Linked DNA regions of Homo sapiens: region 1 is linked to region 2. The links are contacts of gene promoters, found by promoter capture Hi-C in human tissues and cell types (Jung and others, 2019). All regions are on one chromosome and are shown on one strand. The core of a region is centred on a gene start or on the middle of the fragment in contact, and the rest is flanking DNA. Distances in the headings are between cores, read along the strand shown. Region 1 has its middle 41 kb from the start of ZBTB20. Region 2 holds the start of GAP43 (growth associated protein 43).

Region 1 (2,729 bases), core at 173-2,672, 440 kb after region 2:
TTGATTGGCATCTTCCACTGGATCTAAAGATAAGGCTTTAACTACTGTCAGTGTTAAGATTTAGAAGGACTTGATGTCCTTTTTAGACCCAGGAGTCAAAGCCCTATAACTTACTTAATGGCACAAGGACTTTAAAATCACATACAGAAAGTTACACAGATGCAATAATCTTAATTTTAAGAAAACTTTTTAATCTCAGTTTTTTCTAAGCATACCAAACTTAGTAATAATGACGTGGGAATTATTTTGATAAAGTGTAAGATCTAATTATTAGGCCAGTTACCCAAAGGCAAAATAAAAGACCTTCTGCAGTGCAACTACTGTTCCCTATGGGGAATATTATGTTGGAAGGAAACATTTCCTTTAGACCTCTAAGATAAAACCTTTCTTTTCTTTTTTTTTTGCATCAGGCCACAACAGTTAGAAACTGTAGGAAAAAAAACTTATAGGAATTGAAAATGAGTTAAAGGATAGAGTTTGATTTCAGGTCTTTTAAAAGACGAGAGAAAGCTGAAAACAGCAAGATGCAGTAAAAGTTAAACTTTGCATTAAAAAAATTATAATGTCTTGTAATTTATTAAGAGTAGAGCAATACCTTAAGAAAATGTCATGGTTTGAACCAATTCTTTCATGTATAAGTGTGTTTTTTAATCAAAACTCAATCTCTAGAAAGACCATTATAATTTCCCTCTAATTATAGACAGCTTGGTCACATAAAAGTTTTTCTTTTTTTTAATAGATCCTCTCATTATGACTTACACTGACCATTCATGACTGCTTGGAAGTTCTGGTTTGTCCTGAACATCCCTCATTTTTAAAACAACCAGTTATTTTATTCTAGGACAAAATTTACCATATAAGCTTCTTTCTCATATAAAGTCATTTTTCTTTAAGCTTTCTTACCAAAAATACCTCTTTAATTATATTAATATAACTTTCTTTACATCTGTCTTATTTCCTGGTTTCTTTTTCCTTGTTGTATACATAACCCTTAAAGAAGCTTTGAATTAGACAACAATTATTCACCTTTTAAAAAGGATACACTTTAGAAAGAATGTTTTCTTACAATTTTTTTGAAAATACCCAATTGATGAAATACCTATTATTTAATTTAACTTTAGTTTCTAAATTATGACAAGTTTGTCTACAAATATTTATCCCATTACATTTACCTAATTATTTTAATAGTGTACCTAGATTATTTATGATACCTGCAATAGTCATCATTTTAAGTTATGAAACTATAACTGCAAAATTATAACTGGGACAATGAAAAAGGTCTGACCCAACCTACTCCATTTTGCTTTTAACCTCTAAGCTGCCCTTGTTCATTTCCGGGCATTGGATGAATTAACTTTGGGAGTATCATAGTTTATAGTTTAGTTTTGAAAGAGATGATAACAGTCCCTCACAAAACAAACCCCCTTCCTGCCTGGGGACTTGACTGCCTAAAGCTATAGATTAGAAGTTATGGCTATTTCACTAAATAATTCAATATTTAGCTATTTTCATTGAATCAATATCAACCTCTTATTTATCAAAAATTATGCAAGCAAAGATAATTGTATTTTGGGCTGGGTTTATAGTTTTGTATCCCTTATGCCAAATTTTGACACCTTATAGTATTTGGCAGAGATAAGTATGAAATTGCTTGATCAATAAATGAAAATAAACATGTATGCTGAAAATTCTTAAGCCATTTCTACTGTTCTTTACCAATAATTTTAAAGCTAGATTATTAAAGATTTTACTTAAGTCACATGAACTTAAAAACCATTGGGGTTCATTATTTAATTGATGACTACTCACTAAGCCAATTTGGTACCTTGTGGCCAAAACACAACAAAATACATGTACGTACACATAAACACACACATACATTTTCATACACTAAAGATCCTATAGCTTTTACTTCAGAACTCTAGCCGTGAGATATTAATACAAACTTATTGGTCTGCGAAAACAGTAATGAAAAGGAATGGTTGGAGTCTAACAGTGGATTTTATCTTGGTCAAAAAGTAATAGCAGCTTTAAAGCAGGGAGAAAAAAAAACAGAGAAAAAGAGAACTTAAGAACTCTGTAGTTTGAAGGTCGATCTTAGTGCCCCTTTTCTTTCATGTAAATGTGCACAAAGACCATAATAATTCTATTTTAGACAAACTCTAACAAGTAGAGGTGCCATAAAACCAATGGAGTGCCCCAAAGGGGGTCATTCTCCTTGTTTTATCCTCGTTTTTAGATTATTAATTTCCCACTTTTCTTTTTCTTTTTTTTCTTAAAAGGAGGAACTGAGCTATGGCCTAGGGTTTTTGTGGTGTGTGCTGATTGTGGGTGGGACTCCATAGTGTGTTACCACTGAGTTGTTGCCACCCTCTTTCATGTCTCAGTTTCATTCTCTGGAGGTCTACCACCTCCAGGAGGGCTCAAAGCTCAGTGACCAGCTCCCATATGTGCTTCCTGGATGAGCCCTTTTTTAAACAAGTTTGATGGGGATTCTCCATAGGGCTGCTGCAAATCACAGGTGGTCAACCCTCTCTACACTCCCACGAGGCCCCTGGTCACCCACGGGTGCCTTTCAGCTGGGTGGAGCAAAATGTTCATTCTCTTCGAAGCTAAGAAAACTAAATCTCTCATTTACCTATGAAAACAACAGTTCAGCTTCTCACGCAAATGTGCACATACAAGCCAAACTGACATTAATTCTGGGAGAAAAAGCAATAGAGAAGACC
Region 2 (2,785 bases), core at 237-2,736:
AATTATACCCAAATTCCATCTCTTGCACCCCACCCCTAAGGCAATCAGTCTGCGAAGGGCTTCTTTGACCAAGATTGCCCCCACCACACCCCCACCCCCACCACAGTCAAGCATACGCACACACTCACCCGTATCCCACACCCATTTTTCTCTTTAACCTTTGCCAAAATCACTCAAATGCATTCCAACAAATGTTTGAAAGCTTCTTTTGGAGACTGCCATGGCATGGTCGGTTGCTGCGGAATACCACACTCGTCATTCCTTCCCACTCTCACCCCAATCAAGTTTCTAAAATGTCTTTCAAGAAATAAGCGAGCAATTGGAAATGGCTGTAAAACCTGGGCAGTGGGGGAGGGAAGGAGGGGCTCTGATTCTTGCTAATCTTGGATGTGTCCCTCTTCCTGATGAAAATGAGTCACCATACTTATTATCCAGGATGTTAGCCTGTCTCTGGTCACTGACAATCCCAGGAAAGAAGCAAGGGAAGGGGATAAGAGAAAAGACCTGGTTTCCAACAGGTAATACCCGGCTGTCTTTCCCATCCCATCGGAGCTCCTAGGGGCGTGGTCCACCCTCTCCTCCGACCAGCTGGTGCACAATCGGCTGCTGATCTTAGGAAGGGGATTTTCTCCTTCTGCATGGCCAATTTCTCCCCCAGCCCCAGTTGTCTTAGCTTCTCTTAAAAAAAAAAAAAATCTATCAAATCACAGTTTCATTCATTCATTGAAAAATAAATACTAAATAAATAAGACCTGCACGTTTTTCCATAAATACCTGCGCCCCTTCGAAGCTCATGCATGCACGAAATAAGGCATCTTCCGCAGCACATGTGAGAAAATTGTATGACAGAGAGGCAATACTCAGTTCTGAATATTATTTCCTCAACCCTGCTTTTTTGCAAATAATATAAAGAAATGCCTCCCCATCTTGTAGGTAGAGCCCACATCATCTCCCCCACACCCCTTTCTACGTCCACACCCTCAAGACCAGAGACCTCAAATGCTGAGCATTCACTAATAAGAAAAAAAAAAATTATTTCTAGCCAAACAGGCATGTTTTTTCTACCCTCACCCTAATTAGTAGCAGCATTCCAAAACCAGAGCATGAAAGACAGAAAAGAATAAAAGCTGGGATGCAACCATCAGTTACCATATGCTAAGGAAGCGCGAGCACCACGGCCAGAGCAGAAGCAGTAAAAAAATTGTTTGCCTTTACGGGGAAATACTGTACTCGGGTTATTTCACAACAGCAAGAAGTAAAAAATCTTTAGCTCTACCTGTTTGGTTCTTCTCATACAGCACAGCATGGTTGTCTCGTCCCTTGCCTTCTTCCTGCCTTCTCTCCTTTCCTTCTCTCTCTTTCTTATTCCCCCCCTCTCCACCTCTTTTCTGCTCGCTTGCTCACTCGCTCTCTCGCGCTAGCGCGCTCTCTCTCCCTCCCTCCCTCTCTCTCCCTCACACACACCAGGGCAGTTAGCAGCAACTGTAAGGTCCACAGCTATTGCTCATCGCACATGCTCGCTCCCTCTCTCTAGCGCTCTCTCTCTCTCTCCCTCTCTCTCTGGTGCTCTCTCTCCGCTGTCCTCTCTTCCCTCTCTTCTCCTTTTTTCTCCTTCCCCCCAATATCTATCTATCTGTCTTTTTCTTCCCTCTCTCTCCGTCTCTTTCTCGGAATTGTTCTCTAGCCTTCAGTGACTAATCACTTCCCCCAGCCCCTACCCCCATTCTAGACAGTCGCCCCCTCCCAGTCCCCTGCCAGCCTCATGAATATTTAAACACCTCCAATCTGGACCCAATTACCCACCGACTTTTCCACTGCATTGAGAGGGTGATGGGGTGGGGGCAGAGAAGGATATTCCAGTCAATCCAGGAGATATGATAGAGCATGTTTTAGGGAAGAGGGGCTTGAGGAATCCTTGTATTTCTTTAAGAACTCTTTTCCTCTTTTCCTAGTATTATAAAAGCAAAGAACAGCTATTTCTAAAGAGGAATTGTAGTCAGTCCTATACAATATAAGTCATATCTGCCATTACATTTTATGCATAGTTAATAATTGTGGAGGTTAATTTCCCTCAAAAAATGAAATAACATGTAAATATCATACACTGTTTATATATTCTTCTCAGTATACATATAACCTGAAATAAATACAAAGCTTAGATATGCACAAGCATATTTTATATATGTTCCAATATCCTGGAAAAAAATCCACATAAATATATTGCATTTTAAACATTCTAAGCACTTGAGCTCAGAAATAATAAACAATGTTTAAGAATTGGCATCCATATCTAAAATCACATGGTAGTTTTTTGTTTTTTCCTTAATGCACATATACCTGTTTGTAAATTGTGGTTTCTTCTAATTTTACTGAAAAAGCTGAGCACATTCAAACAGGTCTGTGTAATATTGACGGTGATCAAAATGATATTTTACAATTTGGGCATGAGAGATTAAAGTGAATTCATCTGAGATGAGAAGAAACGATAAGTCATGAAGCCTACTTCTTGAATTCCTTCTATGGCCTTTCATAATTTTGGGGGAGGAACATGTGACTCTTAAAGTGTGTATAGCACAATTTTTAGTTATTTATTGTTGAATGAGTTTGAGTGTGTTACTGAAGCTCTTTGCACCTAATTTTCTCATCTTTAAAATGGAGATAATAATGCCAATCTTGACAACATGTTTTGAGGACTAAATGATATAACGCATGCAAAGCACAACAGTCTCTCTGAGTGTATAATAGCTTTACTCCAGAGACTGTACTTTTCTGAAATTCGGGTGAC

The links. Contacts are between HindIII fragments. The study calls those that stand out against the background at their distance.
Region 1: a contact is called between a fragment that was not itself captured here and the fragment with the promoter of GAP43 in region 2, in 1 of the 25 tissues and cell types used here (dorsolateral prefrontal cortex).

The regions. Positions count from the first base shown.
Region 1 is chr3:115,186,892-115,189,620 of GRCh38, reverse strand. No RefSeq gene overlaps it. Among named protein-coding and RNA genes, the nearest start is that of ZBTB20, 41 kb to the right of the region's middle. RefSeq lists an enhancer at 2,470-2,659. The HindIII fragment of the contact is 3,214 bases long and covers 1-2,729 here.
Region 2 is chr3:115,622,211-115,624,995 of GRCh38, reverse strand. GAP43 (growth associated protein 43) reads right to left here and starts at 1,486. Exons shown (of 3, transcript NM_002045.4): 1 at 1,277-1,486. The coding sequence starts at 1,306. The HindIII fragment of the contact is 4,830 bases long and covers 1-2,785 here.